6 separate regions of the Homo sapiens genome follow, and all the other regions are linked to region 5. Evidence: promoter capture Hi-C in 16 types of primary human blood cells and fetal thymus (Javierre and others, 2016). All regions are on one chromosome and are shown on one strand. Each heading gives the region's core, a stretch centred on a gene start or on the middle of the fragment in contact. The rest is flanking DNA. Distances are from core to core; before and after follow the strand shown. Region 1 overlaps CMTM4 (CKLF like MARVEL transmembrane domain containing 4). Region 2 overlaps CMTM4 (CKLF like MARVEL transmembrane domain containing 4). Region 3 overlaps DYNC1LI2 (dynein cytoplasmic 1 light intermediate chain 2). Region 4 overlaps NAE1 (NEDD8 activating enzyme E1 subunit 1). Region 5 holds the start of CDH5 (cadherin 5). Region 6 overlaps CMTM4 (CKLF like MARVEL transmembrane domain containing 4).

The links. Contacts are between HindIII fragments. The CHiCAGO score rates a contact against its expected background, and 5 or more counts as called.
Region 1: a contact is called between a fragment that was not itself captured here and the fragment with the promoter of CDH5 in region 5, in 2 of 17 cell types (total B cells and naive CD8 T cells). The highest score is 5.8, in total B cells.
Region 2: a contact is called between a fragment that was not itself captured here and the fragment with the promoter of CDH5 in region 5, in 1 of 17 cell types (non-activated CD4 T cells). The highest score is 5.3, in non-activated CD4 T cells.
Region 3: a fragment that was not itself captured here is called in contact with the fragment with the promoter of CDH5 in region 5 in 1 of 17 cell types (naive B cells); the score reaches 6.3 in naive B cells.
Region 4: a fragment that was not itself captured here is called in contact with the fragment with the promoter of CDH5 in region 5 in 1 of 17 cell types (non-activated CD4 T cells); the score reaches 6.1 in non-activated CD4 T cells.
Region 6: a fragment that was not itself captured here is called in contact with the fragment with the promoter of CDH5 in region 5 in 2 of 17 cell types (naive B cells and total CD4 T cells); the score reaches 5.6 in naive B cells.

The regions. Positions count from the first base shown.
Region 1 is chr16:66,658,746-66,663,109 of GRCh38, reverse strand. The region is part of intron 1 of CMTM4 (CKLF like MARVEL transmembrane domain containing 4); the gene reads left to right. Among named protein-coding and RNA genes, the nearest start is that of CMTM4, 36 kb to the left of the region's middle. The HindIII fragment of the contact is 884 bases long and covers 998-1,881 here.
Region 2 is chr16:66,639,375-66,644,121 of GRCh38, reverse strand. The region is part of intron 1 of CMTM4 (CKLF like MARVEL transmembrane domain containing 4); the gene reads left to right. Among named protein-coding and RNA genes, the nearest start is that of CMTM3, 37 kb to the right of the region's middle. RefSeq lists a silencer at 212-390. The HindIII fragment of the contact is 2,539 bases long and covers 627-3,165 here.
Region 3 is chr16:66,734,532-66,738,993 of GRCh38, reverse strand. DYNC1LI2 (dynein cytoplasmic 1 light intermediate chain 2) reads left to right here. Exons shown (of 13, transcript NM_006141.3): 5 at 2,750-2,919. Among named protein-coding and RNA genes, the nearest start is that of DYNC1LI2, 15 kb to the left of the region's middle. The HindIII fragment of the contact is 243 bases long and covers 1,431-1,673 here.
Region 4 is chr16:66,807,390-66,811,668 of GRCh38, reverse strand. NAE1 (NEDD8 activating enzyme E1 subunit 1) reads left to right here. Exons shown (of 20, transcript NM_003905.4): 14 at 897-972; 15 at 1,256-1,295; 16 at 2,594-2,680; 17 at 3,056-3,148. Among named protein-coding and RNA genes, the nearest start is that of TERB1, 7.9 kb to the right of the region's middle. The HindIII fragment of the contact is 665 bases long and covers 2,152-2,816 here.
Region 5 is chr16:66,365,289-66,369,908 of GRCh38, reverse strand. It overlaps CDH5 (cadherin 5), which reads right to left and starts at 3,218. Exons shown (of 12, transcript NM_001795.5): 1 at 3,151-3,218. All of the region lies in intron 2 of LOC105371318 (a long non-coding RNA gene), which reads left to right. RefSeq lists a silencer at 652-731 and enhancers at 1,259-1,965, 2,776-3,325. The HindIII fragment of the contact is 26,652 bases long and covers 1-4,620 here.
Region 6 is chr16:66,678,748-66,683,301 of GRCh38, reverse strand. All of the region lies in intron 1 of CMTM4 (CKLF like MARVEL transmembrane domain containing 4), which reads left to right. Among named protein-coding and RNA genes, the nearest start is that of CMTM4, 16 kb to the left of the region's middle. The HindIII fragment of the contact is 2,696 bases long and covers 573-3,268 here.

The sequences.
Region 1 (4,364 bases), core at 190-2,689, 290 kb before region 5:
TTCAAGTGAGAAGTTCTGGTCAGTCTTCTGTGGGTTGAAGGTTCAATATCAATTCTGTTTCAAAGCCTTTGTGATGCTATTTGAATCTTTGCTCGGTATATGCCACCCAGTGGTCAGTCTGGGACCTAGGTGGTGAGCTATCCCATAGTTCATTCTCAACGTCTTTACTGCACTGTTTAGGGTCAGATACACATATATATACAACTTTGGGTGAGCTCAGGAGTTTATAAGCTTTATGGGCTTGGTGTTTTGATTTATAAACAGGAGTTTATAGAACTTTATGGGTTTGCTTCCTCTTTCTGCCAGTTCCTTGGTATTTTCCAGCCCTTAGAACTCCTCTTTCGGGTCTGTGTCCCAAAAGCTGGTTCTTTAGTTACCCTACTCTGTTGAACAGTTTCCACAGCTGTGTCCATGTCCTAGGCCACATGGTGGGAGGACAGGGGAAGGGGAAAGCAAGGGGGTTCGCTCATGCCCTAAGAACTCGGGTTCCTCTGAGTCGACTCCTCTGTTGTGGACATCTGTAGCCTCCTGCTGCTGCATTGCCTCTGACACTTCAGGGTTGTCTGGGGTCTGAAATCTAAGTGAGAATGAAGGAAAAAAAAAGTTAAAAGGAAAATAAAACCCAGGATTGTGTTCAATGTCTATGAGTGTTAGGAAAATCCCCCTGTCTACTTTTCTGGCCAGAACTAGAGGATTGTCCTGGACTCCCTATCTATACCAGGCTCTCTTTTCTGGGTTTTTCTGGGTTTGAGGCTCCTTAGAGTCTAAGCTGGGGAACACTGGAGGAAAAATAGGAGCCTGACTGTTGGTTCTGTGGTGCTTTGAACTCTGGGCATCTTCACCATCTGCCTACTTTGATTTGTTTTTCAGTGTCCTGAAATAGCTGCTCTGTGCATTGTTTCCAGTTTGATAGCAGCATTCAGTGGGACAGACAGGCTGGAGTGTACCTACTTCATTAACTGGAACTGGAATTCCAAATTTATGATACTTGGAAGCTTTCTAATTTGTTTTTGTTGTCTGTTTTTATTGTCTGATAGCCAAATAGGCTCCTGGCTTGCAGGCTGCTGGGGCCCTGGCTTGTGTAGAGATGAATCACGGTGGCATGGTGTTTTGGTTTTTTGTTTGTTTTGTTTTTGTAGTAAGGAAATGTTTTATTTTTATTTTATTTTATTTTTTTGAGACAGAGTCTTGCTCTGTTGCCCAGGCTGGAGTGCAGTGGTGCGATCTCAGCTCACTGCAGTGTCTGCCTCCCGAGTTCACGCAATTCTCCTGCCTCAGCCTCCTGAGTAGCTGGAATTACAGGCATGCACCACTATGCCCGGCTAATTTTTTTGTTGTTTTAGTAGAGATGGGGGTTTCACCGTGTTGGCCAGGCTGGTCTTGAACTTCTGACCTCAGGTGATCCACCCACCTTGGCCTCCCAAAGTGCTGGGATTACAGATGTGAGCCACCGTGCCCGGCCTATAGTAAGGAAATGTTTTAAGTATTACTCTGGGATATTCCTGGCATGTGCAAGGAATCATATAAAAGGATCCATTTTAATAAAATTTGGACTTAATGTTACTATCTTTTCATATTAGCGAACAGACTTTTCTGCCTGTGAATATGAAAACAGAGCATTATAGAAAAGATTTGGGACTGCTTAGCTCTACTTCCCACTAAAAATGACAGTCTTTTACTTCATCCTTAACTGACAAGCGTTTAGCCTCAGTGTGACTGATGTCAGCTAAAATCACCAGGTCTGTTTTCACTTGGCTGCTTTTATCAAGTCTGTTCTCCCTACTCTATATTCCTGTAGCTGAATCTTTGAACCTGAAATTTATACGGGTTACAGTCCATCCGCAGCACCAGTCTGGCTGATGTTGGGATAATTTTGAAGCTTATTACCTTACATATTAGCAATCTGAAGTCTCTTATTCACAGATGTGGCAAGTGATAAACCAGCTTTGTATGTTTTCTCCCAAATAATTTCTAGAAACTTAAGTGGCCCTTCACCTGAGCCCATGTTTTAGGCTGACATGGAACATTAATTATCAACCTTTGGATAGTGTCCAGTTGCCTGTGGACATGGTTTAATGACTGTTTCGTAGATGCCTGTTCATGCCCTGTTGGTCAGTCATTACTCAGCTATTTTCCTGAGTGTCTGTTCGGGAGGGATAGAGCAGGGAGCCAGCTAGACGCGATTCCGGAGACAGGCCCCACCGTGCGGTAAACTGCACTTCCTCACTTAGCACAGCGAGCAGGAGAGGGAAGAGCTGACTATGGGGACAGGGCAGCCAAGTGTTAGGAGATTTGAGGAGACAGCAGGAAGCCTGCAGAGGGAGAGGTTTATTGTGGAGGGATGAGGAAAGGCTTCCCAGAGCAGCTTGCAGTTATTTTTTTATTTGCTTGTTTTTAAATTACTTCTTAAAGAAATCACACAAGTAATACCAATTTAAGAAAAATTAGAAAATACCTCTAAGTTAAAAGAAAAAAACACATGTCCTAGTATCTTACTCATCAGAGATGAACACTAGTCACATTGTGTGTAACACTGTCTCCGTATTTGTTCACATATGTCTGTGTGCATATATTTACAAGTACAGATTGCTTTGTAACATGACTGTTCTATGCTGCTTCTCCTTATCAATAGACTTTACAACATTGAAAATTTTTCTTTTTAATTTACATGCAATAAATTTCACCTTTTATGGTGGAGTTTTGTTTTTTTTTTTTTTTTTTTGAGACAGGATCTCACCCTATTGTCCAGGCTGGAGTGCAGTGGCATAATCAGGGCTCACTGCAGCCTGTACCTCCCAGGCTCAAGCAATCCTCCTACCTCTGCCTTCCAAGAGGCTGAGACCACAGACATGTGCCACCACGCCTGGCTAATTTTTTCTTTTTTTGTAGAGATGGAGTCTCACTAGATTGCCCGGGCTGGTCTCCAACTCCTGGGCTCAAGTGATCCTCCTGCCTTAGCCTCCCAAAGTGCTGGGATTACAGGCATGAGCCACCGTGCTCTGCCTTGTAGTTTTAATTTGCATTTTCCTAATAGCTAGTGATGTTAAGGATCTTTTCATGTGCTTGTTTGCCATCTATATATCTTCTTTTGTGATGTGCTCATATCTTTTACCCACTTTTTAATTGGGTTGTTTCTTATTGTGGAGATTTGAGTTTTTTGTATGTTCTGGATATAAGTTCTTCAACATTTTTAAAAAATTTAAATTTTTATTATGGAAACTTTCAGACATACACTAGTAAAGATAATAGTACAAGTGCCCACATACTTTTTATCCAGCTTTTACAGTTATCACCATTTTGCATTTTTGTTTAATCAACGCTCCCCTCCTTTTTTGTTGTAATATTTTAAAACAAGTCTTCAATATCATAGCATTTCAACTATAAATATGAAGTATGCATCTCTATCAGTTACGAACTTTATTTTAAATGACACATCCACAATATCAATATTACTTCAAAATAACATAATTATTCCTTAATGTCATTGACTATCCTATGTTCACTTTTCCCCAGTGATCTCCAAAATGCCCTTTTGGTTTGTTTGAATTAGGATCTAAACAAGATCCATACGTGATTGCATTTGCTTGCTGTGTCTGAAGTCTCTCTTAATCTTACAACAGCCCTCATCTCCCTTTATGTCATTTGTTTGCTGATGAAATGGGGTAATTTGTTATATAGATTTCCCATTTTGGCCTTGACTGGTGGCTTTCTCTAGTGTGATTTTTTTTTTTTTTTGAGGCAGAGTCTCACTCTGTCGCCCAGGCTGGAGTGCAGTGGCACGATCTCGGCTCACTGCAACCTCCGCCTCTGAGGTTCAAGTGATTCTTGTGCCTCAGCCTCCCAAGTAGCTGGGACTACAGGTGCACACCACCATGCCCAGCTAATTTTTGTATTTTTAGTAGTGACAACGCAATATTGGCCAGGCTGGTCTCAAACTCCTGACCTCAAGTGATCCGCCTGCCTCAGCTTCCCAAAGTGCTGGGATTACAGGTGTGAGCCACCACGCCCAGCCTCTAGTGTGATTTTAACATGCTCCTTCAACTTCTCTGTTTCCTGTAACCTGGTTACTCTATATAGCTTGACTGTGGGATGGGGTTGGGGGTGGGATGAAAAGAAGCTGTCTCAGGTCTGCTGGCTTCATCCTACGGCATCCACACTAGCAGGTGGAGCAGCTGATTGTCTTGCTTTTAGTGAAGCCAAGATTGATTGGTGGGTGCTTGATCCATCTGTTTGAAATTCCGCATCGGTGGCTTTAATAGCTACTGATGCTCACGAGCTAGATCAGCCATTCTTCCTCCCTGTGGGAGGAGATTTTGCCCCCCAGGGATATTTGACAGTATCTGGAGACATTTTTGGCTTTCTCC
Region 2 (4,747 bases), core at 647-3,146, 280 kb before region 5:
TCAAGATGCGATCTGGTACATTGGGAGACATAAAACTCCAAACTCCTGCACAGAAGTACTTGGCTGTTGGCCGGGGGCGGTGGCTCACACCTGTAATCCTAGCACTTTGGGAGGCCAAGGTGGGTGGATCACCTGGGGTCAGGAGTTTGAGACCAGCCTGGCCAACATGATGAAACCCCGTCTCTACTAAAAATACAAAAACTAGCTGGGTGTGGTGGTGGGCACCTGTAATCCCAGCTACTTGGGAGGCTGAGACAGGAGAATCGCTTGAACCCGGAAGGCAGAGGTTGCGGTGAGCCGAGATCATGCCATTGCACTCCAGCCTGGGCTGCAAGAGCGAAACTCCATATCAAAATAATAATAATAATAAAAATAAGAAGTACTTGCTGTTTATAGTACTGCCACAGTTTTGTGCCCTACACACCCTGGAATTCTGATAAATTCTATTTCATGTGGCTCCCATCAAAAAAGGGAGAAAACGTTTAGTGCATTTATAGTTGCATACACTACATTACTGAGTATTTTCCTGATAAGACACAACTCTCATTTAGGCACTGATGACAATAGAATTCTGTACTTACAATTTTATGCATTTGATGATCTGAAGAATTTCCCACAGACAAGCTTCTGGCTCCGTATGTTTCAAACCCTATTTCTCCTCTACTACCCACATATTTCTAGTTGGTCATCATAGGACAGTTTATCTCATGAAGTTTGGGGTCTGTTCCATTGTCATAATGTCAGATGAGCCTGTGCAGTGGTGTCAGAGCATATGTGAAAGCCATTCCTCCACTGGGAGTGCTACGGTAGCTTAACCACACGTGGAACCGGCAGCTAAACCCAAATTTAATGTATCCCTCACTCAACTTCCAGTTAGCTGAATGCCAAAAATGCCCACTGTGGCTGGGTGCAGTGGCTCATGCCTGTAATCCCAGTACTTTGCAGGGCTGAGGTGGGTGGATCACTTGAGGTCAGGAGTTTGAGACCAGCCTGACCAACATGACGAAACCCTGTCTCTACTAAAAGTACAAAAATTAGCCGGCCTTGGTGGCAGGTGCCTGTAATCCCAGCTACTCAGGAGGCTGAAGCAGGACAATCACTTGAACCCGGGAAGCAGAGGTTGCACTTGCCAAGATCTCACCACTGCATTCCAGCCTGGGCGACAGAGACTCTGGCAACAAACGAAACAAAACCAAAAATTGCTATTTCATTATTGCCTGGCACAAGAAGCTGTGACAGAAAGTTAGAGTGGAAGGATGACTATTATGGTAACTTCATCAGCCAGTCCTCTCTCTTTCCTTCTCTTCCTGCTTTTAGATGCTGCCAATCATAATTTGCCACAGTTGTGGAAATCTGACAACCTGTTAATATCAATTCTGGTTTTGTTTGTTCGTTTGTTTGTTTTGGTGATGAAGTCTCCCTTCGTCACCCAGGCTGGAGTGCAGTGGCGCGATCTCGGCTCATTGCAAACTCTACCTCCAGGGTTCAAGTGATTTTCATGCCTCAGCCTCCTGCCTAGCTGGGATTACAGGCATGTGCCACCACACCCAGCTAATTTTTTGTATTTTTAGTAGAGACAGGGGTTTCACTGTGTTGGTCAGGCTGGTCTGGAATTCCTGGCCTCAAGTGATCCAACTCCCTTGGCCTCCCAAAGTGCTGGGATTACAGGTGTGAGCCACTGTACCTGGCCCAGTTTACTTATCAAATATTAAAATATTTACTCTGGTCAGTTTGTAGTTGCCACCTGGAAAGGACTCTCTCCAAGGGCATCCATAATCGCATGATTAGTAAACAAAAAAGTTTTTTCTTATATACATCTTTTTGGACATCTCTGTATAATTTGTTCACGTGACATTTGCTCACTTCAAGGTTGTTATAAGTTGAACTATTTTTGACTCTTTGGTTCCCTTGAAGTTGTTGGCTTCTAGTATCACTTTATCTGAGCCCTTCTTGGTCAATAGGTAGTTTTTATTTCAGCAGTGATTAGATTTCACTGTGCTAGAGAAAATGTTGACATTTTGCTGTGTCCAATGTCAGACAAAAAAATGTTTTGCTTGTAACAGCAGAGTATTAGAAACCATCTAAATGCCTATCAATAGGGGATCAATTAAATTGTGGTTGTGTATAGAGGTGTATATGTGTGTATTTATGTATCTGTCTATGTAATTACATATGAATACATGTAATTATTAAAAGTAACATCTATATGTGGACATACCTGTGGAAACACTATTTAGCAGAAAAAGTGGGCTGGAAAATAAGATATATAATAGGTATTTTATGGTTTAAATAGGTGTAGGTTATAACATGTTATTTTCTTATTTTGTATATAGCATTTTGTCATTTGTAGAGCCCTTTTACATATATTTTTGTTTGGATTTTGAACACAGTGACCATTTGAGATTTGGAAAGGAGGCAGGTATAATTTTATGGGTGAGAAGCTAATAGGGAAATAACATAGTGGGGCAGTAAGAACTGGAGAGACTGAGAATCAAATCTTGGCTATTACATCCTGGCACCGCTTCTTGCTATCTATATGTCACAGAACCTTAATTTCCTTATCTGTAAAATGGGGCTAATATCTACCTCATAAGGTTGTACTGGGGAACTAAATGATAAAAAACAAGAAGTGCCTATAAGGTGTTTGATTTGTATGTACCTGTAATCAATGAGTAATGAGTAGAATATTAATGTTTTATAACAACAAGAGTTTTCCCTCCCTGATATATTATTTATTGCTGCATAACTAATTACCTTAAAACTTTGTGACTTAAAACAAGACATCTTAGGCGGGCCACAGTGGCTGAGACCAGTAATCCCAGTGCTTTGGGAGGCTGAGGCGGGAGGATCTCTTGAGGCCAGGAGTTTGAGACCAGCCTGTGTGAGACCCTGTCTCTACAAAATAAAGAATTATCTGGGCATGGTGGTGTGCCCCTGTAGTTCCAGCTACTCGAAAGTTTGAGGTAGGAGGGTCACTTGAGTCTAGGAGTTCAAGGTTGCAGTGAGCTATGATTGCATCACTGCACCCCCTGGGTGACAGAGGAAGACCCTGTCTTAAAAAAGCAAACAAACAAGAATCAGATCTTTCTTTTCTTTTCATTTCTGTGTGTCAGGAATTTGGGGGGTGGCTTTGCTCTGGTTCTCTCAGGAGGTTGCAGTCAAGCTTTTGGCTAGGGCTATGTCATCTGAAGGCTTGCCTGGGGCTGGAGGACCTATGTCTAAGACGGCTTGTTCAACATGGCTGTTGGCAGGAGGCTTTAGTTCTTGGCACCTATACCTCTCCATAGGGCTGCTTGAGTACCCTCAAGACATGGCAGCTGGTTTTTCCCCATCATGAGTGGTCTAAGAGAGAGCAAGGCAGGAACCATGCTAACTTTTCTGACTGAGCCTGTGCAGTCACACACCTGTGAAGTCATTTCTGCAAGGTAATAGGTCAGCCCTATTCATTGTTGCAAGGGTCTTGTCACTCTCCTCCTGGCTTCTGCCCTTGTCCTCACTGTAGTCTGTTCTCCGCAAAGTAGCTGGTGGCCCTTTTAAGACCCAAAGGAGATCCTGCCACTCTCTGGTGCTTCCATCACACTCAGAGTGAGAGCCGCATACCTCACTGCACCCAAGCGCTCTTTGGGTCTGACCTCCCTCCTGTGATTCTCCCTAGGGGCCACCTGACCCCCTTCCCAGGGATCTCACCTTGCTCCCCACTCTGCCTCCAGTGCTCTTTCTCCAGACAGCTGTCCCTTATATGTTCGGCAACTCTGTCTCAAATAGCACCCTCCAGGGACACTCTGTCTAAACTTTATTTATTTTTATTATTTTTTTTGAGACAGAGTCTCACTCTATCACCCAGGCTGGAGTGCAGTGTAGTGGCGCGATCTCAGCTCACTGCAACCTCCGCCCCCAGGCTCAAGCAGTTCTCTTGTTTCAGCCTCCGGAGTAGCTGGGATTACAGGCGTGCGCCACCATGCCCAGTTAGTGGTTTCACCATGTTGGCCAGGCTGATCTCGAACTCCTGACCTCATGTGATCCACCCGCCTCGGCCTCCCATAGTGCTGGGATTACAGCTGTGAGCCACTGCGCCTGCCCTAAACTTTATTTTATGTTAAAATTTTTTTAGAGTCTCACTCTGTCACCCAAGCAGGAGTGCAGTGGCACAGTCTCCACTCACTGCAACTTCCGCCTCCCAGGTTCAAGGGATTCTCATGCATTAGCCTCCCTGGTAGCTGGGATTACAGGTGTGCAGCACCACATCTGGCTAATTTTTGTATTTTTAGTAGAGACAAAGTTTTGTCATGTTGGCCATGCTGGTCTGGAATTCCTGGCCTCAAGCGATCCACCCACCTCAGCCTTTTGATGTGCTGGGATTACAGGCATGTGCTACCATGCCCAGCTACTTTTTGTATTTTTAGTAGAGACAGGATTTCGCCATGTTGGCCAGGCTGGTATGGAACTCCTGGCCTCAAGCAATCCACCCGCCTCAACCTCCTGAAGTGCTGTACTCCCAAAGGGATTACAGGCATGAGCCACTCTTCCTGGTCTCTGTGTCTAAACTTTCGAACACCTTTGCCCCAGCTATGCTTTGTTCACCTTCCCTGCTTCCATTTTTCTCCTTCGTTCTTATCACTAACTCACTCTTTTTAAATGTAATTTAAAAAAAAACAACTCCTTTATTAGACTGTGAGCTAAGAGCAGGAGTTTTTGTCTGTTTTGTTCACTGCCACAACAAATGGTCTATTAGATTTGCATATCCGTG
Region 3 (4,462 bases), core at 303-2,802, 370 kb before region 5:
TATCCAAAATGGAGTATGGTTTACTTGACTAGATTATTTGTATTAACAGTGAAGTATTTGTGTGTGTGTGTGTGTGTGTGTGTGTGTGTGTGTGTGTGTGTGTGTGTGTTTGTTTTTTTTTGAAACAGAGTCTCACTGTCACCCAGCCTAGAGTGCAATGGCACGATTTCGGCTCACTGCAACCTCCACCTCCTGGGTTCAAGTGATTCTCCTGCCTCAGCCTCCCAAGTAGCTGGGATTACAGGTGCCCGCCACCATGCCTGGCTAATTTTTGTATTTTTAGTAGAGACAAGGTTTCACCATGTTGGCCAGGCTGGTCTTGAATTCCTGACCTCATGATCCACCCGCCTTGGCCTGCCACAGTTCTGGGATTACAGACATAAGCCATCGCGTTTAGCCTGACAGTGAAGGTATATGAATGAGCTTAATTAAAGAGATGCTGTAGGCCGGGTGCTGTGGCTCACGCCTGTAATCCCAGCACTTTGGGAGACTGAGGTGGGTGGATCACAAGGTCAGGAGTTCAAGATCAGCCTGGCCAAGATGGTGAAACCCTGTCTCTACTAAAAATACAAAACAAAATTAGCCGGGCATGGTGGTAGGTGCCTGTAATCCCAGCTACTCAGGAGGCTGAGGCAGAGAATTACTTAAACCCGGCAGGTGGAGGATGCAGTGAGCCGAGATTGTGCCACTGCACTCCAGCCTCGGCAACAGAGCGAAACTCCATCACAAAAAAAAAAAAAAAAAAAAAAAAAGAAGCTGTAGAGATGAAATATCACATCTGCACTTTAGGGCCTAATCAGTTAGTTTTCAGTTTGCTCACTGTTACATGAAAGACAGAGAGCTCTCAGATAATTTCAGAAGCTCATATAATAGTAACGTCAAATCTTTGTAAATAAAAACTCGTGGTTTGAAATGTTTGAAACGTGTTCTGTGGGTGAAGAGGAGCAGGTAGGACCTTTCTCTAGGTCCTCTTCAGTCCTGTTGTTTGAATTTACTTAGCATGTTGGTGAGAGTAAAAGGCCTTTGATCCTTCAGTCTTACTGGACTTAGAAGGGTAGAGCTGCCTGTTTTCTTCTCTGGCTCAAGGTAGCTTTAACTGTTGCATTTTTTGTTCTCTGGACCAACATGAGAGCCTTGAAGTGCCCACATAAAGGTGCAGAGCTGTGGGCTTTGTGGTCACTTGGCTTAACTGAGGCTCGGACCATTGTCACCTTAATGGCCTTCCTTAGCTGGATTAGTGAATATTGTATGCCAATAAGTGGATGTTGTACCACTGACCCTTTCTTGTGTTAGGCAGGAATAGGCCGTGAACACTGCACAAGTGACTTGGGATCCCCAAAAGATGAGACTGAGTCCACAAGAGTGAGGATAATAAGGAAATACATCTGGTGCTGGGCAAGACCAGCCTGGTTACTTAGTGCTGACAAGCTTCAGCTGTGTGGAAACAGCATGTTCTTATAAAATTCAATTGTTTCATTAAGCATTTTTTTTTTTTTTTTTTTTGAGACGGAGTCTCGCTCTGTCTTACTGCAACCTCCGACTCCCTGGTTCAACTGAGTCTCCCGCCTCAGCCTCCCAAGTAGCTGGGATTACAGGCACGTGCTGCCACACCCAGCTAATTTTTGTATTTTTAGCAGAGACAGGGTTTCACCATGTTGGCCAGGGTGGAAGCTTGTTGTTTTTTGTTTGTTTTTGTTTTTTGTTTTGTTTTGTTTTTTGAGGTATAGTCTCACTCTGTTGCCCAGACTGGAGTACAGTGACGCAATCTTAGCTCACTGCAACCTCCACCTCCCAGGTTTAGGCGATTCTCATGCCTTAGCACGAGTCCCCAAGTAGCTGGGACTACAGGTGCACCACCATCCTTAGCTAATTTTTGCATTTTTAGTACAGATGGGGTTTTGCCATGTTGGCCAGGCTGGTCTCAAACTCCTGACCTCAGGTGAACCACCCGCCCTGGCCTCCCAAAGTGATGAGATTACTGGCATGAGCCACTGTGCCCAGCTCATTAGGCATTTCTAATGAGGACTGTGATAAGTATTGTAAGTTATAGCTGTTTCTAATGGTCAGCTATGTTGAAGTTACACAGTTCAACTCTTCTGGTATTCTGAAAATGTAAGATACATAAGAAAAGTGGCTTTCTTCATGGTAAGAACTATTGAAACCTTAGTATTTTTTAAAAACCTGTTTAAGGGCCAGACATGGTGGCTCAAGACTGTAATCCCATAATCCCAGCACTTTGGAAAGCCGAGGTAGCAGGATCTCTGCAGCCCAAGAGTTTGAGACCAGCCTGGCAACACAGGAAGATCCCACCTCTACAAAAATTTAAAAAGTAGCTGGGCATGGTGGCACATGCCTTTAGTCCCAGCTACTTGGGAAGCTGAAGTGGGAAGATCACTTGAGCTCAGAAGATGGTGATATCAGACTGCTGCACTTCAGCCTGGGCAAGAGAGCAAGACTTTGTCTCAAAAAAGAAGAAAAAAAAACCTGTTCAGGGGTTTGGTGCAATTAAAGATGCCCAGGGGAATGTCTTTGCTGCCCCGATGTTACAAAGCTCACACTGAATATTTCAGAATTGGCATTTTGTATCACCATCCCCAAATCCTTGATTTTGCAGTTGGATGTGACTAAGAAGTTTGTCACACACAACTGCCTGTGTTTTGTGCTTATTATTGCCTTCTTTTCAGTGTTCTAAAGCTAACATGTATTTTTATTTATGTGCATGTGATTTTTTTTCCTCTTTTTCCCCCAGTTGTGAAAGATTTTCAAGACTATATGGAACCTGAAGAAGGTTGTCAAGGTTCCCCACAGAGAAGAGGCCCTCTGACCTCAGGCTCCGATGAAGAAAATGTTGCCCTGCCTCTGGGTGACAATGTGCTGACTCATAACCTGGGGATCCCGGTGTTGGTGGTGTGCACAAAGGTGTGTGCCAGGGGGTTGTTGGCTTGGCTGGGTTCGGGTGGTGAACAGTCACCATCTGAAAGTTTGAGAAACTGTTGACGTTTTTTTCCCAAGGGAGACTTGGGCTTATTTGAGATTCATTAAGGTACATTGAATATGTCAAGACAGAAAAAATTATCATGTAAATTGGAAGTTTAAATGCAGGAAACATGACTAGTCAGTTTGCTCATGGCCTAGGGTTAATGTCTCTGAAGCACTGTTGACTTTCAAACTTAGAACTCACAGCAGTTGGCCAGTTGCGGTGGCTCACGCCTGTAATCTCAGCACTTTGGGAGGCTGAGGTGGGCGGATCATGAGGTCAGTAGATGGAGACCATCCTAGCTAACATGGTGAAACCCCGTCTCTACAAAAAATACAAAAAATTAGACAGCCGTGGTGGCGGGCACCTGTAGTCCCAGCTACTTGGGAGGCTGAGGTAGGAGAATGGCATTAACCCAGGAGGTGGAGCTTGCAGTGAGCCGAGATCATGCCATTGCACTCCAGCCTGAGCGATAGAGCGAGACTCCGTCTCAAAAAATAAAAATAAAAAAAAAAGAACTCACAGCAGTTTCCTTAAGGCTATTTAAATCAGCTGATGTGGTCCAAACTGATGGTGGAAAATTAGAATGATGAGGTAGGAATAGAAATTAAGTTCAGTCATGCCAGACATGGTGGCTCATGTAATCCCAGCACTTTGGGAGGCTCAGGTGGGTGGATCATTTGAGGTCAGGAGTTCAAGACCAGCCTGGCCGACATGGTGAAACCCTGTCTCTACTAAAATAGAAAAATTAGCCAGGCGTGGTGGCAGGTGCCTGTCATCCCAGCTACTCGGGGGCTGAGGCAGGAGAATTGCTTGAGCTGGGAGGCTGAGGTTGCAGTGAGCTGAGATGGCGCCACTGCACTCCATCCGGGATGACACAGTGAGACTATGTCTCAAAAAAAAAAGAAAAAAAAAACAAACAAAGTTCAGTCATAGAGAAATAGAGAAATAAAGTTGTATCTCTTATATAAGGAAAAACAATAGGTTTTAAAACTTTTTTTTTTTTTTTTTTTTTTTTTGAGACGGAGTTTCACTCTTGTTGCCCAGGCTGGAGTACAATGGTGTGATCTCGGCTCACTGCAACCTCTGCCTTCCCAGTTCAAGCGATTCTCCTACCTCAGCCTCCTGAGTAGCTGGGACTACAGGTGTCCGCCACCATGCCTGGCTAATTTTGTATTTTTATTAGAGATGTGGGTTTCTCCATGTTGGTCAGGCTGGTCTCAAACTCCCAACCTCAGGTGATCTGCCCACCTTGACCTCCCAGAGTGTTGGGATTACAAGTGTAAGCCACCACGCCTGGCCACATTTTGGGTTTTAAAAGTACTTTATTTCCAGTCAGAGCCATCATGTTACCCAATTATAGTGTGCCATTCTCATCCTGTTCTTGAGAATGGAGCCCTGTGGAGTGGAGTGTACAACTGTGTACACCGGGCCTGCCTCCTGATGGGAGCTTGTTTGATGTTTAGAACAAACTGTTAGGTGATC
Region 4 (4,279 bases), core at 1,235-3,734, 440 kb before region 5:
GCACTTTGGGAGGCCAAAGCGGGTGGTGAAATGTGCCACAAGGGATGTTCACAGTTGTTTTAAATGGTTGAAATTTTACGTTTTCCATGGTCTGTCTCAGTGGTATAGATACAGATAATAATTGGGTAAGGGTTTTTTTTTCCTCTCATAATAAATACAGAGTATTTTAAAACAATCAGAGGTAGAGCATGTTTATCTATGGCAATGCTAAAAAGGTATGAAGGTCAGTTAATTGAAAATTGTCATTAATACAGTATTTTCAGTTTCTAAATCACTTGAACCCAGGAGTTCAAGACCAGCCTGGGCAACATGGTGAAACTCCGTCTCTACAAAAAAGACAAAAATTAGTCGGGCATGGTAGCGTGTGCCTGAATTCCCAGCTACTTGGGAAGCTGAGGTGGGAGGATCAGTTGAGCGTGGGAAGTTGAGGCTGCAGTGAGCCAGGACTGCGCCACTGTACTCCAGCCTGGGTGGCAGAGCGAGATCCTGTCTCAAAAAACAAAGAAGTTTTACATTGGAGATGAACAGTTTTAATGTATTTAACTTTCCTTGGACTTGACTTCCAGGAGATAAGTCATGTTCTTCAGTAATGTATTTTTTCAGGTCCTCTGTCACAGAAGCCGAAATCATAGATCCCTCTAGGGGAGCAGTTTTTAAGTTGGGTGCTGTTAGAGGGACCCTGGGTTTTAGTGGGCACTGAGAGTCCGTCACTAACACTGGAAAGATTCCCAGCTACTCATGGTGCTGTTGATAGCATTTCCCTGGCATTTTCACATTTCATACATTGTCAGACCTGTGTTTTTTCATGAAAAGGAAAGAAAATTTTTGTTCATGGTAACAATTTAAATTTTGCTAATTTAAAAATTTGTTAGTAATTGCTTTTTATTCTTTTTTAGTTACCGTGAAAAAGCAAAGAAAGATGCTGCCGCTGTGGGTAATCATGTTGCCAAATTGCTGCAGTCCATTGGCCAGGTAAGCTACTGGGCACACTGTGCCCATACAGGCCTCAGCACGTAACTCCAGCCAGAAAGGGTTTAGAGACAGAGGGTGTGGCACTGCCTCTGTGCTTCTTTAGAGGGAGCTGTCATTTCCCTGCCTAATGGGATAGCTTGTGATAAGGAAACAAGATATTTTTAAAGTGCTCTCCCAGCTCTTGGAGAAAGCCTTCCCATCTCACAGTGATTGGCTTTGTGCCGCACCCTTTGTTAATCTTCTCTTTTAAACTGGAACAGAATCTGTATTTATCTCTTTACAGGCACCAGAGTCCATTTCAGAGAAAGAATTAAAATTACTCTGTAAGTCCCCTTGAATTAATTTCCTTATTTTGCTTGATAGAAATGTGCCACAGGGAATGTTCCCAGGTATTTTGAATGGTTGAAATTTTAAGTTTTCCATGGCCTCAGTGATATAGATATAGATAATTATTGGGTAAGGTTTTTTTTTTCCTCTCATAATACAATACATGGCGAGTATTTTAAGACTGAATCAGAGGTAGAACATGTTTATCTGTGGCAATGCTAAAAAGGCTTGACGGTCAGTTAATTGAAAATTGCCATTAATACAGGATTTTCAGTTTTTAAATTTTAAGTAATTTAGGAAGTTTTTTTGTCTGAAGACTTTGGGTGTGAAGTCTTGAGTCACATGTACATTGACAATATTGGTTTAAATACTCATTTTGATCTGTGTTAAATGACTGTAATGGAGTTAAGAATTTTGCCATCTAGTTTCGGAGTGGTTAGGTTCGTAGGAGTCTTCTCAGTAACTCCTCAGTAGGCCAAAAGCATTTTCTTTTATTTAAGAGTCAGTTTCAAAATACCCAATCTGTTGTGCATGCCATCTGAAGATTTCTCCCTGTAGCTACTGCTCCTACGTCCTGTGGAAGTTTATATTTTGCATGCTCCCCATCCTTAAAATAGATTTATCCAAGCTTTCCATTTTATGACTTCTCCACAATGTCTGTTTAGGCTCGGTTTTAATGTTTTCTGCCACTACTAATCTTGCACCTTGTTTGTTCTATTAGACTAATCTTGAATTAGCGTTTGTTGTATTAGATTATATAATACTAGATCACAAGTTTGATGCTGGGTATTTGAACATTTATTATTCTGTTCTACTTTGGGGCGTTTTTGAAAATTTCAATAATACAAAGCTTAAAGTCATTACATATATCAAGAGTACAATTCATAAACCTCTCTCCTTTAGGACTACTTATCCATAATAATGATGAAAACTATTATTTTTAGAGCCATATCAGGCATTGTGCTAGAGATGCACTTTATACAGATGTCACATTTAATCTGTAGAACAATTCTCAAAGGTAAACAGTATCATCCCCATTTTACACTTGAAAACTGAGGTTCAGAGAGGCCATCACCTTACTTGCTTCTGAACTGGTTGTAGTGCCAGGGATATAAATTTAAGGTGATTCATGTTCTAGTGCTTTCTCTGCTATTAGAACCAAGGAGAAAACATTTCTTCACATTCTCATGTCTGAGAAGGGTATACACATAATTCTCTGTTCTTAAAGTCACCTGTGATTCATAATATTCACCAGTCACAGTCATTACTTCCAGAATATCTTTCCTCTGTTCAGGCAGCAATTCTGCATTTCTTCGAGTGGTAAGATGTCGATCCTTAGCTGAAGAATATGGTTTGGATACAATTAACAAGGATGAAATTAGTAAGTATAATAGCCTTCTGATTCTGGGTTAATTTTAATTAATTTAAAAGATATAAATATTTTGTGTATAATAGTGTTGAGTATATGGTGATGATATTAAAGATAACGTAAACATATTCTAATTTTATTCTAAGCTTATCTAGGTAATTATAATTTATATATTATATGAAACTTAATGTATGCATAAAGTCATATTTAGGTCACTGAGTCCATTGTGTGATATGTATGAGTTAAAGTCAGTATGTTACTACTTCAGTAGAGATTGTGTGACTCCAGTTAATAGTCCTGAAACTCAAGTATATAGTAAATTCAGCCCTTCATTGTTTGTTACATTGCAAATTAACCAAATTAAACTGAAATTTTTTTTCCTTTCAGTTTCTAGCATGGACAATCCAGATAATGAAATAGTGTTGTACTTAATGTTACGGGCTGTTGATAGATTTCATAAACAACAGGGTAGATATCCAGGTAAGAATAGCAATTGAATTACCAGATATAATAAGATCTTCAATAAAACATTTAAATTGAAAGTGTTCTCAGGGTATTTATAATAGTGTTGCTTGAATTTCACATTGTAAACAGATTACACCCCAAACGTTCCCCAGTGAAGAACCACCTTTTGTTTTTTAAGTTTAACTATTTGCAAAATAGTGTTCGATTCTAAACTATTACAGGGGGATGTTGGTTGAATATGTATAGAAGAAAACTTTTTTCTGTCATTTTCCATAGTTTGTTACTAAGACTCACACTGAGTTTAATTTAGTGGAATAGGAAAGCCACAAGAAATATGCTGGCCAGGCATAGTACGGTGGCTCACGTCTGTAATGCCAGCACTTTGGGAGACTGATTCAGGCAGATTGCTTGAGCCCAGGAGTTGGAGACCAGCGTGGGCAACATGGTGGAACCCCATCTCTACTGAAGATACAAAAAATTAGCCAGACATGGTGGTGTGCACTTGTAGACTCAGCTACTCGGGAGGATCACCTGAGCCTGGGAAGTTGGGGCTACAGTGAGTTGTGATTGTGCCACTAAACTCCAGCCTGGGTGACTGTGGTGAGACTGTCTCAAAAAAAAAAAAAAGTATGCTACTAATTTCTGAACTCAATAACTCTGAAGATGTAGGAATTTCTTTGTTTAGTTATCTACTTTTTATCTTCAGCAAATGTAGTCATTGGAGAATTGGCATAATCTCAAAGATCTGAGGTTGCTCAGAATATTTTTCTTTGGGATGATAATTTTAATTGTGCAGGATTATTGCATAGCAACACATTCTAGGGGTATCATAAAACCTGCTGCTCCATCTGATACAGTGTGTCTCCAGAGTTTATAGTCTTTTTTTTTTTTCTTTTGAGACGGAGTCTCGCTCTGTCGCCCAGGCTGGAGTGCAGTGGCGTGATCTCAGCTCACTGCAACCTCCGCCTCCTGGGTTTAAGCAGTTTTCCTGCCTCAGCCTCCCGAGTAGCTGGGACTATAGGCGCCCGCCACCTCGCCCAGCTAATTTTTGTATTTTTAGTAGAAACAGGGTTTCTCCGTGTTGGCCAGGCTGGTCTCGAACTCCTGACCTCAAGTGATCCTCCTGTGTTGGCCTCCCAAAGTGCA
Region 5 (4,620 bases), core at 1,969-4,468:
AGCTTGCCACATGCCCCTTTCCACACCTATGGCAGACATCACGAATCAATCACTCAAAGACTGTATTGAGGATCCTCATAGACTGTATTGAGGATTCAGGGGCTGAGTTCAAGTTCATTCCCACTGAATGAAGGTAGAGGGTACCAACTGGCCAGACCTATTTTGTGATGTGAAACAAATTTGTGCTGGAATCTCTGGGCTCCGGGTCATCTAGTCTATCCCCTTGCCTTCTAAAGGGACAGCTCCAAACTTCAAGGAGAGAACACCCATGCTAAGGAGGCTTCCAGACTCCTCTGGGCTTCCTGACTTTGTCTGGGACTGTCAGGGCAGTGCGGGGAACAGAATGAGGCCCTTGCACCTGCCTATTTGAACCTGCCCAGCTGCTCGGGAGCTGTGTGACCTTGGGTTCATCTCTTGCTTGCTGAGCCTCAGCTTCCTTATCTGTAATGGAGGCAACAATAGCTGCCTCCCTGGGCAGGAGGATTAAATGAGATCATGGGTGCAAAGCCTGGCACACAGTAGGTGCTCAGTAAGGGTGCAGGTGTCTTGACTCCTATCTACCCGCCCTCTCCAGCCTGGTGGGTGTGGCTTTGACTGGCCAACTTACGCTTGACCTCATTTCCTGGCTCTACTCTGGGCCCACCTCCTACTCTTTCTGTTCCTCTGCAGAAGGAAATCTCATTCACCACCAGCCCGGCCTGCCCCTGGGTCCCACTTCCTCCTCCTTCTAGTATCTGGACCTGCCAGGATCTGACTGTTTTGCTATGGTCCAAGGCAGACAACCTGGAAATCCCTGAATTAGTTTAGGGACCATCCCCTACTCTCAAGAGATGGGAAGACTGAGGTGCAGGCTGCAGAGGGGCTGCCCAAGGCCTCCTAGCATCTGGGATTCCCACTCTTCCTCCAGCAAGCCCTCCATGATTTACCCACTTAACACCAGCTTGAACCTGGATCAGGACAGACTTTTTAGTATCTCCTCAGCCAGAGGTGAAGCTCCTGAGGCCCTGCCTCCTAGAACATTCCTTCCCCTGGTATCACTGGGCTCCTGGCTTGTCCCTGTGCCTGCCTCTGTGGCCTGGACTGCTCTGCTTTCCCCCTCTCTGAGCTTCACTGTGGAGTGTGGCATGGACTGTGGGTCAGAAGGAACCGCACTCACCCTGCTTCTACCTTGTGTTGGTTGTGTGACCTTGGACTGGCTGCACAGCTTCCCTCAGCCTCGATGGTCCCATCTGTCAAATGGGAATTCTCATAGTTGCTTCAGTGTGACTGAGGGGGTGCAGAGAGAGGATACAGGGAACAGTCATGGGTCCATGTGGGCAAAATGAGCCTAAGATTCTTCCTGGGATGGTGTCCCCTCTGTCCCCTGGGTGTCCCCAAGTCAGCAGTGAATCATCCAACTTTGCAGAAAATGTGTGGCCCCTGCTGGCTTCCTGCCCTCATGTCCGGCCCTTGTTTGGCAACACAATAGCTCAGGCTGAGGCTGCAGGCGGGCAGCTTAACCCCTTCCAGGCCAGTATACACCTCCCCTACCCCTCACCACCATAAGCTGAAATTGGTAGGGCTGCTCAGGGGCTCAGCAGCTCTTGGGCCCCTTGGTGGATACCTGCTGCTCTCTAGGGCAGGCAGAGGAGAGTCCCAGGCTTCCCACCACCTGAGGATGGACCAGGGCTTCTGGCCCTGGCTCCAGTGGCCTGTGGCAAAAGAGCCTTCCAGGTACACCCTCGACTCCTCAAAGCTGCCTCCCTGGGAATGCCCTTCCTCTCTTGTCAGAATCCTATCTGCCCATCACACATGAGAAACGTCCACGCTGGGGAGGGAGCCTGACATGGAGCAGAGGCCCAGAGGTGCTCGCGATGTCCTCTCACTTGCACCCCCTTCCTCGTACCTGCTGGGCACCTGAGGACCCCTCCGTGATGGGGTTTGACCATACCTCAAGGGCCAAAATCTTTATCACATTCACAACCAGGATCGGCTCTGTGCTAGCTGGTAAATCCAGCCACTATTCCTTAAAGATCTCATGTTATGTGCCATTCCCAGCACCAGGGATGTAGCTCACTTCACTCAATTGACTGAGGAAACACTGTTTCCCCATTTCACAGATGAGACACTTGAGACCTGGGGAGAGCTGGGGCTTTGGAGTACGAGATCCTGGTTCAAATCCCCACACCAGCTCATATGTTTCCAAAGCTCAGTTGCTTTCACTGAGATATAAAGAAAGAATGTATCTACCTTGTGGAGTTGTTAATGGTAAAATAATGAGCCCCACACCATCCCTTGTTCCCCACTGTGGTTTGGAAACTCTGGGTAACTTTCCCAAGGTCACCCCAGAGCAAATGGGAGAGCTGGGATCTGTACCCAGGGCAGCTGTCTCCAGGCCAGGCTCTTGGCCCAGACCTCCTGCTTCTGGGGGACTTCCTGGGCTGTGGGGGCCTTGGGGCTCTTATGCTCTAGCCTTTGAAAGGGTGCTGGTGGGAGGAATGGTGGACCGCTGTCCAGACTACAGCTCCCTTGACACATAGTGGGCCCCGATGGTGTTTGGGCAGGGAAAGGCCCAGAGGGAAAGGCAAGACCTCAAGTGCCCAGAGCCAAGCCTCAGCTTGCCTATCCTGAAATGGGGGCACTGGCTGACCGAGAGGGGCCAAGGCTCGGAGCTTCCTTTTCAGGGCCCCTCCCCAGATCCCAGCATAGAGCTTTAGTGGCGTATGGGTAGGGGGCTGAGGAGGCTGGTGTCAGGCCTTGGTAAATCCTCTCCAGTAAGGGTAAGGCACCGAGGGGAGGCCAAGGCCTGGGTGCCAGTCCTCTGCCCCGGCATGCTGGGCAACTGGGGCAGAATACTGCCCTCTCTGAGCCTGGCACTGATGAAGGCCAGTGGGCCTTTTTGAGTTGGAGAATACACTTCTGGGAGAGCCAAGCCCTTGCCCTGCCCCCCTCAGCCCCGAGATGCCCATTTGTGCCCTTGGCACTACCTCTGGGTGCACCTTCCCCGACCCTGCTCTGAGCCACGAGGAGGCCCAGCGTGCCCTCGAGGAGCCTCTCTGTCATGGGAGTGGGACGATGCCCATTCTACAGATGGGGAAGCTGAGGACCCTCCCATCTTGGGCGCAGGGTGGCGGGTTTGGGGTGGAGGGGAGTGTGGGAGCCCCCACTCACCGTGCCTGTGGGCTGAGGGATGTTTCTGTTCCGTTGGACTGCCTGTCCGTCCAGGGCTGAGCGTGAGTGGAGCTCTGTGGAGCCTGTCAGCCGACCGTCTTTGGAGGGGAGCCACACCCCGCTGGCGAGGGAGGCCTGGCTGCCTCCCCTTCAGGTTTTCCAGCTGGCCCTGGCCCACTTCCCCCTGGGATGGTTTCCTGTTATTGTTCCTTTGTGAGGGCTGGGCTGGCTGCAGATAGGCAGGCCCTGCGGTGGGCGGCTGCCTCGGCCCCGGATGGCTGTCTCCACAGAGGGCTGGCACTGGACCCTGCCTGGGGCACCCCACTTGAACCCCTACTCCCGGCCTCAGCTCTGGGACTCTGAACCCAGCACCTGCAAAGAGCCTGGCTGTGGGGACCCTTGGCTGCAGCATCACATTTAACCCTCCTTGGAATGCTACAGGCAGGTGTCATCACCCCCATTTTATAGCCCGGGAAGCTGAGGCTCAGCGGGTTTAAGGTGCTTGTCCACCCAGCTGGGGTATAAAAGAGCCAAAAATCTAGCTGGGGTCAGCCTAGCCCCAGAGCTTGATTTTCTGTGGTGATCCCATGATGTCTTTGTGGGAATGGACTTTAAAGGTGACAGGGAGGCTTCAGGAGATGGGAAAGGGACAGAAGCTCTTGGCTCTGGAGGACCAGGTTGGCTTCTCCTGGTCAGAGCGGGCATGGACTCCAGCTCTAAGGTGCCAGCCTCGGTCTGTAGGGGATGTTTGCATTTAGGGATATTGGGTGGAGTCAAGTGACCCAGCTCTGCTTCTGATGTGACCTCTGGCCAGTTGTGTCATCCTGGAGCCACAGTTTCCTCATCTGTAAAATGGGGATAATCACAGCCTCATCCTCACAAGGCTTTTGACATAAACGAGAATCAAAGAGGGGCGTGGAAGACAGTGACGCTGAGGCTGGATCAGAGCCCAGAAGAACCAAGAGGCTGGGGGGAAGGGAGGGGCCAAGATTCTGCTGACCAGGAGAGACATAGGAGGAGCTTCTAAAAACTACAGAGGACTGGGCTCACCCCAGATCAACTGATTTGGAATCTCCCAGGGCAGATCCTGGGAATCTGTCCTTTGAAGAGTTGCTTCTGTTTTTCCATGGGTGAATGGTTGGGAAGTCCCAAACTTGTTTTATTATATAGCTGGGCAAGCAGAGACCCTGAGAAAGAGAGGGCCCAGGGCCGTTTAGTAAATCAGAGCACAAGATGGGGAGTGTGATGGAAGGATATTTTTGGAGGAGGAGGGGATAGTGATTCCTCTGTCTCAGGCAGGTTGAGTTTGAGATGCTCGTTAGATACCCAGGTGGAGGTGTCAGGCTGGTGGGGGAGACAGGGGTGAGTCCAGCCTGGAGTCGAGGTTTGGAACCCAACAGCTTATGGCTGGCATCTGAGGCCATGGGCATGGATGAGCTTGGAGGGAGGGAGGACTTGGACCCTCTGACA
Region 6 (4,554 bases), core at 671-3,170, 310 kb before region 5:
AAAAAAAAAAAAAAAGAAAAGAAAAAAATGGGTTATTAATGTAGTTTGTAAGGTCAAGTTTTTGAAAACATGGAATCCATGGGGAAAATTTATATATATATATATATGTATATATATATACATATGTATATATATATATACGTATATATATATACATATATATATATATATACACACACACACACACACACAACTAGACTCTATTTGAGGTGGAAAATATTGGAGAGAAACTATGGAAATAAAATGCCATCGTAATTACTTTTTCTTTTTTTAACTTTAAGTAGACTATCTACTGCTACTAGGAAACAGAAGATTTTGCTTAGGAGACAGATTTTTGTAAAAGTTGGGGAAACCATAAGAGGCTTTGCCAATCTTTTTGCCTAGAAAAGTGTAAAATGAAAACCAGGATTCTGTAATTATTATTGAAGTTGTCTGCTTTCTGATTAACACATTCAGAAAGAGAGAGGCTTGTATCTGTCAAGCAAGTATCTTTCAAGAGACACTTTTCAGGCAAAGAAAAAGTCACAACTGGCATTGAAGCTGAGGGTCATAGTGATTTTTTTTTTAAAGCTTTCTGATTAAAATAAAAGAACAACCGTTCCATGAGGCCTGCAAAGGGAGGCTGGCGATCTTCAGTGAAGGCTAGAGAAGGCTATGGGAAATACTGTTAAGCCAGCATTTTGTTGTTGACAATTTCAAATGAATGGTTAAGTTTGAGAATTAAATGAGTTAATAAACACTTAAAATGTTCAAAGTTTAATCAAGTGTGGATAGTTCTGGATGTTTTCTTTACTGCCACTGCGATTTGATGACTGGTGCAGTGGAAGCCTTCATTTTTGTGGTTTCCCATTTATTCCAGCACCACTGTGAAAAACAGTTTAAGGCTAAAAGATTTTTGTGCCAGTGGAAAAAAAAAAAGAAAAACAACCCAGAAACAATGGCTCTTCCAGGGGTAGTTGCTTCCTCAGCTTGTCTACTTTCTTTCACCCATTTTCAGGCCAAGCCCTAGAAATGTGTATAACTTGAGATTAAGTGTTGGCTAAATAACTTGAAAGTTAAATCAAGATCAGTAACTAGATGTCAGTAAAAATGCTATCATTCACCCCTTTTTAAAAAATCCATACTTTATATACATTTGAGTGCCTAGGGTGGGCCAGGTACTATTAGAAATAAGACAAAAATCTCTGCCTCCAAAGAGCTCCCAGAGCTCTTGGGAGTAAGGGTTTGGAGTGGGGCAGACAAAAGTACACAAACCATTGGACCACCTGAGCCAGGGGCTGTGATAGAGGCCTGGCGATAGTGGGCTTGGCAGGAAGCACTTGTGGCCATTTGGGAAAGGGGCACATTGCTGTAAGATGCTGAATGGCCAATGCCTGGAATAAGGAGGGTGTGCCTGTGGCAAAGGAATATCCCAGGTGCTAGGGTCCAGCCCAGAAAGGCGTGGTAAGAGGTGAGTCAAGTGTGGTTCACCAGGCAAAGGTATGGAAGGGAAGGGCAAGTGATTTGACAAATGGGGCAAGATGAGGGGGACCCAGGCTGGTGAGGGGCCGATTTGTTAGCCTGATGAAATTGGATTTTTCTAAAAGAGATGGGGAACAGTTATAACTGTGGCTATTGAGCGCTTGAAATGTGGCTGGTACGAATTGAGATATGCATAAATACAAAATACACCCTGGATTTTAAAGATTTAATAGGGAAGGCTGGGCGCGGTGGCTCACGTCTGTAATCCCAGCACTTTGGGAGGCCAAGACGGGTGGATCCCAAGGTCAGGAGATCAATACCATCCTGGCTAACATCTCTACTAAAAATACAAAAAAATTAGCTGGGCGTGGTGGCGGGTGCCTGTAGTCCCAGCTACTTGGGAGGCTGAGGCAGGAGAATGGCATGAACCCGGGAGGTGGAGCTTGCAGTGAGCCAAGATCAGGCCACTGCACTCCAGCCTGGGCAACAGAGCAAGACTCGGTCTCAAAAAAGAAAAAAAAAAAGATTTAATAGGAAAAAAAGCATGTCAACTATCATTAATAATTTTATACTGATTATATATTGAAGTAATATTTTTCATTTGTTTTTCCTTTATAGAGACAGGGTCTCACTGTGTTGCCCAGGCTGGTCTGGAACTCCTGGCCTCAAGTGATCCTTCTGCCTCAGCCTCCCAAAGTACTAGGATTGCAGGTGTGAGCCACTGTGTCTGGTCAATATTTTGGATATATTGGATTGCATAAAATATACTATCCAAATTCTACTTTTTTACGTTTTAAAATATGGCTATTAGAAAATTTTCAGTTGCATGTGTGGCTTACGTATTTCTGTTGGATATTTCTAGGTTAGAAGGTGTGTGCAATGGCTTTGAGAAGGGTGAGATTATTGCAGCAGGACCTGGTCAGAGACTTTGAGTAGATCCAGTGAGAAAAGAAGGCTTAACTAACTGGTCTTTTGGCAGTGGAGATGGAAAGGACATAACTAAATGAGAGAGAGTTAAGAGGTGGAGGTGGCCATTATGGTTTTTTTTTTTTTTTTTTTTTTTTTTTGAGACGGAGTCTTGCTCTGTTGCCCAGGCTGGAGTGCAGTGGCACGATCTCGGCTCACTGCAAGCTCTGCCTCCCAGGTTCATGCCATTCTCCTGCCTCAGCCTTCCGAGCAGCTGGGACTACAGGTGCCCGCCACCACGCCTGGCTAATATTTTGTATTTTTAGTAGAGACGGGGTTTCACCGCGTTAGCCATGATGGTCTCGATCTCCTGACCTCGTGATCTGCCCGCCTTGGCCTCCCGAAGCGCTGGGATTACAGGCATGAGCCACCATGCCCGACCTTTTTTTTTTTTTTGAGATGGAGTCTCACTCTGTCACCCAGGCTGGAGTGCAGTGGTGTGATCTCGGCTCACTGCAGCCTCTGCCTCCTGGGTTCAAGCAATTCTCGGGCCTCAGCCTCCCGAGTAGCTGGGATTACAGGCACCCACCACCACACCTGGCCAATTTTTGTATTTTTAGTAGAGACAGGGTTTTACCATGTTGGTGAGGCTGGTCTGGAACTCCTGGCCTCAAGTGATCCATACGCCTTGGCCTCCCAAAGTGCTGAGATTATAGGCATGAGCCACTGTGCCTGGCCGGCAGTTATGATTTATTATATTTCTTGCTTTTAGTTTACAGTACATTAAATTCATTTCTCAATCAATAAATGATACTAAAGGTAGCACTGAAGTGTGCATTGCTATGTGCCAGATTGCTAAGTGTTTTATTTGTGTTACCTCATTTAACGTTCATGGCAAGCTTATCAGGCAGGCACTGTTAATGTTGCCATTTTACAGATGCAGAAACAGAAGCCTATTGGGGTCAATAACTGGCTAGCTGGTGGGGAGCTGTGCAGTCTACCTTCCAAGGCCAGAGCCCCCGTGTGAGTTTGTTTCTGTAACCATTAGGCGGATTGTGAGCATTGCTCCAGCATCACTCATCGGTCTCATCTTTTTTTTTTTTTTTTTTTTGACATAGAGTCTCGCACTGTCACCCAGGCTGGAGTGCAGTGGTGTGATCTCAGTTCACTGAAACTTCCACCTCCCAGGTTCAAGCGTTTCTCTTGCCTCAGTCTCCCGAGTAGCTGGGATTACAGGCACCCAGCACCACGCCCGGCTGATTTTTATATTTTTAGTAGAGACAGGGTTTCACCATGTTGGCCAGGCTGGTCTCGAACTCCTGACCTCTAGTGATCTGCCCACCTCGGCCTCCCTAACTGCTGGGATTACAGGCATGAGCCACCATGCCCGGCCTCATCAGTCCCATCTTACATTGACTTGGTCCGTTTCTGTTTTCCCCTCTGCTGGCTCTGCTCCTGGGGGGGTCTCCAGCCTCAAGAGAACCCTTTTTGCATAATTCAGGGGTCACATCTCTCAGAGTCAGGGGAGAAGGGGGGCCCTCAGTTCTTCTTTCTCCTTGGATTATTGATAAAATTTAAGAATTGCTAAAATCAGAACCAGTAAAAGTGATGAGGAAGCTGGAAGCCATCTTTTCCCATGGAGCGGGGTAAAGAAGTGAAAATTGAGACTTGATTGTCATCCTTCTTGCCAGCAGACTTCAAAGTGTTTGGGGTTGGATGAATTATTGACCTAGAATTTTTTTCTTTACTTCTTAGAACAGCGAATACAGAGTATTGGCACTTGTTTTGGACTTTAACTTGTTTGTAGATATTAAAGGATAATTTTTTTTTTTTTTTTAGATGGAGTCTTGCTCTGTCACCCAGGCTGGAGCGCAGTGGCATGATCTTGACATACTGCAACCTCTGTCTCCTGGGCTCAAGTGATCCTCCCACCTCAGCCCCCCAAGTAGCTGGGACCACAGGCGTGCACCACCATGCCTAATTTTTGTACATTTTGTAGAGATGGGGTTTCGCCATGTTGCCCAGGCTGGTCTTGAACTCCTGGACTCAAGTGATCCACCTCAGCCTCTCAAAGTGCTGGGATTACAGTCGTGAGCCACTGCTCCTGGCCAAAGAATAATTTTTTAAAGATAAAATCATGACTCATACAAATGTAAAGTATTTTATTAATTAATGAGGGAAACAGTA